Linked DNA regions of Homo sapiens: region 2 is linked to region 1. Evidence: promoter capture Hi-C in human tissues and cell types (Jung and others, 2019). All regions are on one chromosome and are shown on one strand. The core of a region is centred on a gene start or on the middle of the fragment in contact, and the rest is flanking DNA. Distances in the headings are between cores, read along the strand shown. Region 1 holds the start of RET (ret proto-oncogene). Region 2 overlaps ZNF33B (zinc finger protein 33B).

Evidence for each region. The method cuts DNA at HindIII sites, captures the fragments that hold promoters and counts their contacts. A contact is called where the count stands out against the background at its distance.
Region 2: a fragment that was not itself captured here is called in contact with the fragment with the promoter of RET in region 1 in 1 of the 25 tissues and cell types used here (aorta).

Annotation. Positions count from the first base shown.
Region 1 is chr10:43,072,778-43,078,651 of GRCh38, forward strand. It overlaps RET (ret proto-oncogene), which reads left to right and starts at 4,292. Exons shown (of 20, transcript NM_020975.6): 1 at 4,292-4,554. The coding sequence starts at 4,482. RefSeq lists enhancers at 137-894, 603-894, 3,349-3,615, 3,481-4,338, 4,647-5,637 and 1 more and promoters at 3,831-4,514, 4,216-4,514. The HindIII fragment of the contact is 24,069 bases long and covers 1-5,874 here.
Region 2 is chr10:42,617,877-42,624,358 of GRCh38, forward strand. All of the region lies in intron 4 of ZNF33B (zinc finger protein 33B), which reads right to left. Among named protein-coding and RNA genes, the nearest start is that of ZNF33B, 17 kb to the right of the region's middle. The HindIII fragment of the contact is 6,117 bases long and covers 1-5,557 here.

The DNA.
Region 1 (5,874 bases), core at 3,042-5,541:
ACACTGCCACTGTCTGCTGAGCCCACTGATGCATCATTGGGCTTTACCCTCAAGGCAGTGCCCATGTTATTGCTCTCATGTCACAGAGGATGACACCGAGGCCCAGAGAGGACCACAGAAGCTGCTGAGTGGTGTGGCTAGCCTGGCTCTGGTGCTGAGCGAAAAGGATGGAGATTCCTCCAAGGGAAGGGGAGGAGAAGACGGGCAGAGGGGAAAGAAGAAAGGAGGGCGAGGGAAGGAAATTCACAAGAGAACAAAGTGTGGGGACATGGAAAACTGAAGTGGGCAAAGTGATAATGATAGGTTAGTGGGAGTAGGTGGGCAGGCTGGTGGGAGGAGGTGGGCTTTCTCTGAACCCCCCAGGGTCTCTGATGGATATGTAGGCCCCTGTTGCTTTTGTTCGGGCACCCGGCTCCTAATCAGGCCCCAGGGAGGATGCAAAAGGGGTCTTCTCCCAGGCCAGGTTGAGGGCTCTTCTGCAAACACCCCTGAGGGCACCTGAGGCCCACAGGCAGGCAGGACCTGCACAGTTAGGTAAAGCCTGTCCTGCACAGCCACACCCTGCAGGCCCAGGCCAGGTGTTCTGTGAGCATGCTCATGGAAGCAGCATATTTGGCATAGGGTGGGCTGGCTGAGCAGCCCCTCTGAGTGCCCTGAGAGCTAGCTGGTGGTCACTGGCTTCCTCCTCGCAGCTGCCCTGGAGGGCACCAACAGCAAGGCCAGGGAGGCAAACCGTGGGGAGCAGTAGACCTGCCCCTCACCTCAATAGCCCGATGGGGGAGCAGAGGGCAGTGGCAGACAGATGGGAAACTGAGGCACCGACCACTTTGCTAACAGTGCACACAGCCAGCCTCAGAGTCTGTGCTTCCAACCACCATGTCACACTGCCCATGGGAGGGACCTGGACCCCTGCCCACGCCCACTCTGAGAGGCCTCGGTCAGCAGTTCCAGGAATGCCACCCAGCCTTCCAGTATCACCAGGACCGAGCTGCGCTCTTGAATGTGTTTCCCCCTACCTGCAAGTCACGAGGCACCCCCAGAGCCAGAGTTTCCTGTCACTGCACTCAGCCTCACTCCAACCATGCTTCTCAGTGCAGGCAGAGACCCCCATGTCACCTGGGTCAGAGGACACAGAGCATCCCGCCCGCCTCCCGCCAGGCAAACCTGCACAGGCATGGCCCAGATCTCTGTCCATGATGGGTTTCCCTCCTCCCTCCCTTCCCTGTGCTGCGTTTTGGTGCTTTGGGGTCAGACCTGAGGTGCTCCAGGTAATCTTCACCTGCTCAGAAGCAATGAATGACCTCCAAGTTCTCACATGCTACAGGAAGATGGTGTGAGCCGCCTGCCCACTGAGCATCTTACCCTGCACTGGGGCAGAGCCTTGAAAATACCATCTCCTCACAGTCACCAGGGAAGGACACTGTTTCAGTCCCCATTTGAGAGATGACAAAACTGAAGCTGAGGAGTAATGTATGCAATGTCACACAACTATGAATGGCAAAATTCAAACTCAGGTCTAATCACTCCAAGCAGATGCCTGCACCAGAACCTCTTGGGGAATTTTTTTTTTTTTCTTAGAGATAGCGTCTCACTGTGCTGCCCAGGCTGGTCTCGAACTCCTGGCCTCAAGTGATCTTCTTGCCTTGGCCTCCCAAAGTACTGGGATTACAGGTGTGAGCCCTTAGCCTGGCCCCTGAACTTTTTTTTTAACATGGATTTTTAGGGAGTGGGGGACCCAGGATGTGTGTCTTCATAAAAGCTGCCCTGAAGATTCTCCAAGGGGACCTGCGGGCAGGGACAGGAAGCACTGACCACACTGTGATGTGCCCTCCTCCAGCTCCCAGAGAGCCCGCGACCCTCAGCAGGGCAGTGTGGCCAGGGTGCCCGAGCCCAGGCCCAGGAAGGCCCAATGGCTACAACTTATTAAGGGCTTCCTGTTTGTCGGGCACTGGGCTCTACCCTCACATGCACCCCTCTTTCTAGTTTCACCCCTTCTTCTGAAAGGGAGATGTTTATAGCTGGGGAAACTGAGGCTCAGAGAGATGACTAAGGGGAGTCAAGAAAGAGAGGCAGAGCCCCCTGCAGGCCCTCCCCACCCCATGGACTGAGAGAAGCCAGGGCCAGGACTCCTGGGCAGCCAAAGACCGGCACGTCTGCTTTGCACTTCACCTGGCCCCCACCTCCCCTTGTGAGACCTCAGGGGGTGGCCTCGCTTCCCCTCTGCTGGGCAAGGAGCTCCTTCCTGCTGCCTGATGTTCTGGATACTGAGCCTACACCCAGGCAGGGCTGAATCTCCTTTCCCCGCAGTCCCTGAGGCCAGCAGGCTCTGGGCCTCACAACTGTCCTCTGCTGAGCGACCCTTTGGTCAGATCCCTGGGCGTGCACGTAGCAGGGAGGTATGCATCTGTGTGCGTGTGTGTCCACGTATGGGAACACAGGTGTATGCATGTATGCATGTGTACAGGGTACACCCATGTGAGGGCCCCCCAGACCTTTTTCCAAGGAGTAAATGACACCCTCTCATAGTGTCAGGTGTTCACTCAGGACCCCCAAGGGTGAGGGTGGAGCGAGAGCGTGGAAAGGCCTAAGGTAGGCTAGGCAGGAGCACAGCCCCAGATGGCCCCTTAAGATGGCCACACAGAGCCCAGCCAGACATCAATGTCAGCCAAGGGCTGGCCAGGGTGGTCCCCGGGAGGTGCAGGGGTGGGGCTATTTAAGCCTACCCACTTCTCTCTTCATTCACCTAGGAGGCAATCACAGGAGCTTGTCTGTAGCCAAAAGATGCCCCCAGCCCCTCCCTACCTATCAGGTCCCTTCCCTGGGCACAGGCCTGAGTGTGTAGCCTAGGTAGCCACTGGCACCAGAGATGGAACCTGTCTGAACCCAAGGGAGCCCCTTGTGGCCAACTCTAGCTCCATAAACTGGAAGGGTGTGGCAGGCAGCCGGAGTCCAGTGGCCCACAGTGTCTCTCCTGGGCTGGCAGGCCTGTGCCCCGGCCACCTGCCCCTCAGCAAGCCAGGTCTGGACATCACGGTTGGCTGAGTGCAAGCCAGCCTCTGTCTTGGCAGCTCCCCCTCCTGCCTGTGAGGGTGACTTCACTTTGACTTCATATCTGCAGTGATGTGCAGATCACTTATTCAGCCCTGAGCTCAGCCAGGCAAGAGGGCGGGGTTCTGCACACAGCAAGCAAGGGAGCGGCTGGCTCAAGGGTGCCCTGGGCCCAGGTTCCCTGGCTTTTCCTCCTCAAGGGCCCATGGGCTTCCCTTCTTCCATCCCTCTGCGCCTAAGTGCAGGCCAGACCTCAAAAAGCAGCCGGGGATGGGGCGAGAACAGAGGACTTCCCCACTGAGCCCACATCCAACCTCACCCAGAACCCCTTCTCAGGTCCAGTTGCTGCTCCCTATTAGGGGTAAATGTGTTTATGCGCATCATTTCCATCATTTCTTTGGGGGAAAATTGGATTCTTTCCTCCTCCTCGCTACTCGCTCTCCGACTCTGCCAGCCCATCTCCTGAGAGTTCTCCTGTGTAAGGGATGCAAGGGCCACCAGCACCAGGTCTCTGAAAGGACGCCGGAGCCAGTTTCCGGTTTCCAAGGGTTGGACCAGTGCTGGAGGGGGGAATCACAAACTGCCCTTCCAGGACCCTACCCTCTCTACTACCCCAGGATGCTGAAAAAGGCTATTCTGCCTCTCTTCCCCTGCTCAGCTCTTCCCCGCCTCCTGCCTCCGGCCCCAGCAGAGGCCGCGCTCCCACTGCGCCTCTCGCCTCTGAGAAATGGCGCAGCAAGCGCTCCGCGGAGAGCCTGGAGGCGGGGCGCCCTTCTCTGAGTCCGCGGGGTCGCACCCCGAGCCAGTCGGCCAGACCTGCATCCCGCGTAGCATCCCTGCCCTCTCTGTGCAGCGGAAAGGGCAAAAGGCAGGGACTGCAAGCGGGCGCGCACCGGGTAGGAAGAGCGGCTCTGCGTAGGTGCGCGGACCCGGGCTCCTGGGTTCCATCCCCGCCGCGCACCTCGGGGTCCGCACCCGGCTCCTGCCGGGCCCTTTTCGGCCGCACCCCGCTCCCGCACCCCGCTCCTCCCCAAGCCCCACCCGGCCCAAGCCGCGCGTCCCGCACTGAGCTCCTACACGCGCCGCGCCCCGGCCGCACCCCGCGCAGCCAGAGCAAGCACTGGAGCCCCGCCCCTTCCCGCACCCCACCCGCCTCCGGCCCCGCCTGGCCCACCCCTGGACCGCCCCCGCCCCGCCCCGCCCCTACCCGCTCCTCCGGCGCAGCCGGCGCTTACCTCGCTTCAGTCCCGCGACCGAAGCAGGGCGCGCAGCAGCGCTGAGTGCCCCGGAACGTGCGTCGCGCCCCCAGTGTCCGTCGCGTCCGCCGCGCCCCGGGCGGGGATGGGGCGGCCAGACTGAGCGCCGCACCCGCCATCCAGACCCGCCGGCCCTAGCCGCAGTCCCTCCAGCCGTGGCCCCAGCGCGCACGGGCGATGGCGAAGGCGACGTCCGGTGCCGCGGGGCTGCGTCTGCTGTTGCTGCTGCTGCTGCCGCTGCTAGGCAAAGGTGAGTTCTGCCGGCCGCCGGCTCCCGCAGGGGCCAGGGCGAAGTTGGCGCCGAGCAGCGGAGCGGGCGCGTTCAGAAGCGCCTTTCTGTTTGCCGTGGGCAGCGGGCTGTGCGGTCGCCGGCCACCCGGCCTCGGCTGGGAGCGCAGTGGCTGCGGCGGGCGGCGGGCGAAGGGCAGGACGCCTCGGGCCGGGCGCCTCGGGCCGGGGCTGGGCGGGTCTCGGGCGGGAGCGGAGCGCGGGCCGGGCCGCGGGGGTCGGTGCTCAGAACCCTAGCCATAGCCGCAGGTCTCAATCTGGCCGCGCCCTGCGCCAAAGCCGCGTCCTGGAGCAAACGGGACAGCCGTTTCGGGGCCGACCTGGCGGACGGGTCAGGGAGCCCCGAAAGCCCGCGATTCGTGCGGAGAGTTCTGTTTCGGCAGGAGACGGCTCCGTCCTGGTTTCCTTTTCCCGCTCAGCGTCCGTGCGTTCCTCCCCCAGCTCTGCCGTCCTGGCCAGCCGAGGGATTCGGAGGCTCTTTTGAAAAGATTGCTTTTCCCTCGTGCGTTTTTGCCGCCCTGTCTTTAAACACCTAAAAACCGTGGTTTCTGGGGTGGCTCCCCCCGAGGGGCCGCCGTGATAGGCGTCCCACCCGGCAGCCCTGGAGTCGTGTGGCGCTGCCTGGCAGAGATGCTGAAGATGCGGCCATAGGAGGCCCAGGGCTTGGGGTGGGGCAGGGGTTTGCGCCGCCAGCCAGCGTTGGTGCTGGGCCTGGTGAAACCTCAGGTGCCTTAGGATCCCAGCATTAGGTGTGGCCTTGCAAAGATGGTCATCGACCCCACCCAAACTCTGGCAGAGTGAGCCGCAAGGCTGTGGAATCTTTGACCCCTTGGCACGCGTTTAAGTGTCCCTCAAACTGGCCCTGACTTGATCCCCTCCAAGCGCTTGTGTATGAACCAAGTTTCCCTCTAAGAGGGAAGGAGCCCTGGCCATCCTCCCTCACTCCTTACAAAGGGCTTTCTCTCCCCACAGCCTTTGGGAACAGAAGAAGCCATGGTCAGTCACCCTGTCTCTGGCCCCAGGCCCTGCACAAACTGAGTTTCCAGGCCTGCCTGAGACTTCATTTGTGTGACCTGCGCCTCAGCTCAGCATATGCTGAGGCCAGAGCGGGTCCCCAGTCCACCTAGCGAGGGACAGGGGAGAAGCCCTTGCCTTTCTATCTTTTCTGAGTGTTAGGACTTTGGGGTCCCAGTGCTGCAGGGGGAAGACACGGGGCAGAAGCAAACAAGGCGCTCTGACGCTGTCTTGGGATTCTGGGCTGTGGCTTTGGCTTTGAGGTTGT
Region 2 (6,482 bases), core at 1,249-3,748, 460 kb before region 1:
CTACATTTGGGCAAGCCAATAATAAAGCCTAGGTGGTCCCTCCCTCAATGCCAGTAGGAAACTGAAACCACACAAACTCCATCCTTTTTGTGTGTGCTCACCCTACCCCAAATTCCTAATGACAAGCAGCCATTCTTCTCCCTTCTTTCTCAATCCACATTTAGACCTGCTTAGGAGCCTTCTCTGGTCTCCCTAGAAACCTGTGTGTATAAGTAATAAACTCTTTTTTACACTCTTGATATCATTACCAGTTTTGATACCTAAACCAAGCGTAGGGGGCAGGAGGGTTCATCCCAACTCTATGGGGTGGACCAGAACAAACATGTAAATTTTTGAGATTGGGTTTTTTAAAACTCAGCTTAATCTCTTGAGATTCATCCATAATGTTACATGTATTAGTCATTCATTCCATTTTAATACTGGGTAACACTTCATGGTATGGACACACTACACATTATTTATCCATTCAAGAACATCTGGATTATTCGGGTTTGGGCTATGACCCATAAAACTGCTATAAAATTTTTTTGATGGAACATTAAGTTTTTATTTCTCAAGGATAAATGTCTAACAGTGTAACTAGTGGTTCACATGCTAAGTTTGTTTTTAGTTTTAAATGGAACTGACAAACTATTTTCTAGAATGACTGTAGCATTTTACTTACCATCAAAAATGTATGAATAATTCAGTTTCTCTAAATCTTCACCAGCACTTGTATTATCACTTTTATAAGGCAGGTCAAATAAGAGCATGATAAAAACATCTTTCATTATGACGTGTCTGGGTATAAGTCTCTTTGCATTTATCCTCCTATGAGTTTGCTGAGCTTCTTGGATGAATATATTAGTTTTCTTCAACAAATTATGGGCGTTTCTGCGAATTCTTCAAAAAATTTTTCTTTCCCTTTCTATTCTCTCATATTGATACTCCCGTTTGTGTATGCTGGTGCACCTAATGATATCCGTTTCCCAAGGTTTTGTTCATTTTTCATTATTTTACTGGCTCTTCCTCAAATTACACAATATACATTGATCTGCACCAGACAACCCAGTTTCTGCCAACTAAAATGGCAGTTATTATTGTGTTGCCTATTGATAGTCCTGTGCATGGGTCACATTTTTCCTGTTTCTTTGCATATCTCATTTTGTTGTTGTTCTCGAATGGACAACTGGTCCATTCACTTAACAGTGTTGAGTGACATAATCAAATGGTGGAGTACACAGCTCCCAACTGTCCCCACACAGAAACACCAAAAAAAAAAAAAGAACTATAAAAACCAACCTTGTTAGAACTCTGGAAAATAATTAAAGGTTTACAGTAACCAAGTGAATGCTAAATCAGGAAAAAGGCGACTTCAAATGGTGGGAAAGTTTTGTGGCATTTTTACTTTACAAGAGACCCTCATTAATATCAGGAGCTCATATCTCCGCAGAAATCAATTGAAGGCCTGAAGACAGATGGATGACATATATAAATTCCTGAAAGAAAAACACTATCATCTGAGAATTCTCTAGCTGGTAAAACTGTCCTTCAAAATGAAAGAGAAATGAAGATAATCCCAGATAAACAAATGCTGAGTTTGTTACTACTAGGCCTGCTATACAGGGAACACTAAAAGGTGTCTTTCAAGATGAAATAAAAAGAAACTAGACTCAAATCTGGAGGAAAAAATAAAGACTTCCAATAAAGTTAACTATATAGACAAATATAAAAGCCAGGGTCATTATGTTTGCTTTGTAACTCCATTTTTTTACTTCCTGCAGGACTTAAAAGACAAATGGATAAGAACTAAATATAAATTTACATTATGGGCACACAATGTATAAAGACATAATCTGTGACAACATAAAGGGGATGAGTAAGGTGCTAGGTAGAAGCAAGGTTTTCATATGATATTGAAGTTATGAGGGAATCAATTTAAACTAGATTGTCATGAATTTAGAAAGTGAAAGTAATCCTCATGTTTAATTACAAAGACAATATCTTAAAAATGTACACAGAAGGAAATGAGAAGGGAATAATATATAATATAAAATAATAAAAATATAAAAATCAGGCCAGGTGTGGTCGGCTCATGCCTGTAATCTCAAGCACTTTGGGAGGCCGAAATGGGTGGATCACTTGAAGCCAGGAGTTCAAGACGAGCCTGGCCAACATGGCAAAACACCATCTCTACTAAAGACACAAAAATTAGCTGGGTGTGGTGGCACGTGCCTGTAGTCCCAGCTACTTGGGAGGCTGCGGCATGAGAATTGCTTGAACCCAGGAGGAGGAGGTTGCAGTGAACCAAGATCATACCACTACACTCTGGCCTGGGCAACAGAGCAAGACTTTGGTCTTGAAAAAAAAAAAAAAAAATGAAACACAAAGAAGGCAGTAATAAAGGGAATATGGGACCAAAGAAGGTATACAATATACAGAAAACAAAATGCAATATGGCAGAAGTGTTTCCTTGTTGGTGATTACTTTAAATGATAATTGCTTGAACTCACCAATCAGAAGACAGAGGCTGGCAGAATGGATTTGATTGATTTATTTATTTTTTAGACAGGGTCTTGCTCTGTCACCCAGGCTGGAGTGCAGTGACACAAACAGGACTCAATGCACCCTTGACTTCCTGGGCTCAAGGGATCCTCCTGCCTCAGCCTCCCAAGTAGCTGGAACCACAGCGCACACCACCACACCCAACTATTTTTTTTTTTTTAATTTTTTTTGTAGAAACGGAGTCTCACTTTGTAGACCAGGCTGGTCTCCAAGGCCTGGGCTCAAGAGATCCTCCCAAAGTGCTGGGATTACAGGTGTCAACCACCCAGCTTCAGAATAGATTTTTTTAAAATATGATCAAACTACACATTGTCTAAAACAAACTGACTTAAAATCCAAAGACACAAATAAATTAAAACTGAAAGGCTGATAAAAGATATTCCATGAAAATAGCCACCAAAAGAGAACTGGGGTGGCTATACTAATTTCACTCAAAATAGATTAAGTCATAAGCTGTTACAAGAGACAAAGAAGGATACTATATATGAATAAAGGGTCGTTCCATCAATAAGATATAAAAATTATAACTATATATGTACCAAGCAGCATCCTGAAACATGTAAAGCAAACACAGAATGCAAGGGAGAAACTGACAGTTCTTACAGTTAATAGTTTTAGACTGAGGCTGGGCATGGTAGATAGCACCTGTAATCCCAGAGGTTTGGGAAGCCAAGGTGGATCACTTGATGCCAGGAGTCCAAGACCAGCATGAGCAACATAGTGAGACCCTGTTTCCACCAAAAAAAAAAAAAAAAAAGATAGCTGGGCATAGTGGGCATGGTGGTATACAGCTATAGCCCCCTCAGGAGGATGAGTGGGGAGGATCACTTGAGCCTGGGAGTTCGAGGCTACAGTGAGCCATAATTGTGCCACTGCACTCCAGTCTGGGCAACAGAGTGAGACTCTTTTAAAAAAAAAATACAAATGCAAATGAATAAATGAATGAATGAATGATGCGTATGAATACAGATACAAAGCTACACAAACACATACACACACACACAAATACCAGTAAAATATATTTAATGGTATATTAAGAGGAGTATACACCATGACCAAGTGACCAAGGGGGACTTATCCTGGAAATGCCTGTGTGGTTCAACATAAGAAAATCAATGTTTTTAAAAAAAAAAAGAAAAGAAAATGAATGTAATACACTTCATTAATAAAACAAGTAAAAAAAGGACACGATCATCTCAGTTGATGCAGTAAAGGCAGTTGACAAAATCCAACCCCTTTCAGGACAAATACATTCAGAAAACACAAAACAGAATAGAACTTCTTCAACATGATAAAGGGCACATATAGAAAATTCACAGCTTTACATCATATTCACTGATGAAAGAAAGCTTTCCTCTTAACATCAGGAAGAAGACAAAAATACCCACTTTTGCCAGTGCTATTTAACACTGCAGTAGAAGTTCCAGCCAAACAAGAAAAAGAAAGAGAGGCATCCATTGCAAAGGAAGACATAAAACTATGCCTACTCACAGGTGACATAATCCTAAAGATAGATCATAAAGAAACTACAAGAAAGATACTATAGCTAATGAATGAATTCTGCAAAGTTGCAGGATACATCAACACACAAAAATCCGTTGTGTTGCTACACACCTGCAAAGAACAATCTGAAAAGAAAATTAAGAAAACAATTCTACCTATAGCACCATCTAAAAGAATAAAATACTATCTAGAAATAAAGTTAACCAAGAAGGTGCAAGACTTGTATACTAAAAACTACAAAATACTGATGAAAAATATTAAAGAAGGCATAAATAAAGGAAACAGTATCTCATGTTCACAGTTTGAGAGATGTCATATTTTTAAAAGGCTAATACCATCCAAAATGATCTACAGATTTAACACAATCCCTATCAAAATTCCATCAGCATTTTTACCAAAATAAAAAGCTGATCCTTAAAGTCACGTGGAATTATAAGGGCCCTGAATAGCGAAAACAATTTTTAAAAAGAAGAACAAAGTCAGAGGACTCAAAACGTCCAATTTCACAACTTATTAGAAAGCTACAATAATCCAAACAGTGGGTCATGTCATAGGTGTAGACATACAGACAAACGGAATACAAGTGAGAGCCCAAAAATACACTGCCTATGGTCAACTGATTTTTGACAAGGGCGTCAATTCTATTCACTGGGAGAAAGAAAAGCCTTTTCTTTCAGTTAATGCAGGCCAAATATTGTCACGCTACTGACATGAGATACAACAGTCATACTCACAGACAAAATAGATTAGAGGTTACCACAGGCTGGTGGGAATGGGAATGAGTAGTTACTGCTTAATGGTGATAGAGTTTCTGTTTGAAATGATGACAAATGACCAAAAAAATGATGCTGGGTTAACTGGATTTCCACATGAAAATAAAGTTAGAAAATAAAGTTAGATCCCTACTTTGACTATACACAAAAATGAACTGAAAATAAGAGCTAAAACAATAAAATGTTTAGAAGAAATGTTCAGAAGAAAACATAAGGAAAACTTTGGGTTTGGTGATGGATTCTTAACTATGACATAAAATGGATAAGCAACAAAAGAAAGAGTAGGTACGGCCGGGTGCGGTGGCTCACGCCTGTAATCCCAGCACTTTGGGAGGTCAAGGTGGGTGATCACCTGAGGTCAGGAGTTCAAGACAAGCCTGGCCAACATGGTGAAACCCCGTCTCTACTAAAGCCACAAAAATTAGCTGGGCACTGTGGCATGCGCCTGTAGTCCCAGCTACTCGGGAAGCTGAGGCAGGAGAATCACTTGAACACAGGAGGCAGAGGCTGTGGTGAGCCGAGATCGTGCCACTGCACTCTGGCCTGGGTGACGGTGAGACTCTGTCTCAAAAACAAATATCTGTGTATATATACACATTAAAAATAATTCAGTGGTACCCCAAAAAGCTAAAAGAAATACACTTTGATAAAACAATTCTACTCCTAGGTTTATATCCAAAAGAAATGAAAACAGGAACTTTGAGCAGATAATGATATACCAGTGTTCACTGAAGCATTATTCACAACAGCCAAAAGGTGTACGACCCAAGTGTACATCAACAGATGAATGGATTAAACAGCCAGAAAAGAAAGTCTTGATACTTGTTACAATACAGATGAAAGCTGAAAGCATCATGCTAAGTGAAATAAGGCAGACACAAAAGGCCAAATGTTGTCACACTACTGACATGAAATATTCACAACATTCAAAACTCACAGAGACAAACTAGATAAGAGGTTACCATAGGCTGTTGGGAGGGGGGAATGAGTAGTTACTGCTTAATGGCAATACAGTTTCTGTTTGAAATAATGCAAATGTTTTAGAAATTGTGGTTATGGCTATACAACATTGTGAGTGTAATGCCACTAGACTGTACACTTAAAAACTGTTAAAATGGCAAATTTCATGTTATATATATTTTACTACACACAAAACAATATATTGTCAAAATGCTCCAGCATCATTTGCTGAATACCTGACTGAATTTCTTTTGCATTTTTGTCAACAGTTTGTCAAATGTCTTAGCTTCAGCTGCCATAACAAAATACCAGACAGTATGGCTTAAACAACAGAAGTTTATTTCCTCACGGTTCCAAATGCTGGAAGTCTGAGATCAGGATGCCAGCATGGCCAGGGCCTGGTGAGGGCCTCTTCCCAGCTTGCAGTTGGCCACTGCATGTTCACATCGCCTTTCCTCTACGCACATGGAGAGTGAGGAAGCTCTCACTTCCTCTTCCTGTAAGGCACTAACCTCATCGTGAGGGCCCCACCCTCATGACCTAATCTAACCCTAATTACCTCCCAAGGGCTCCACATCTCCAAACACCACCACACTAGGGTTGAGGGCTCCAACATATGAATTTTGGGGAGACATGAACATACAGTCTATAACAGCATAATCAATGTTGAAGTTTTCTATTCTTTTCCATTGTTCTATGTGT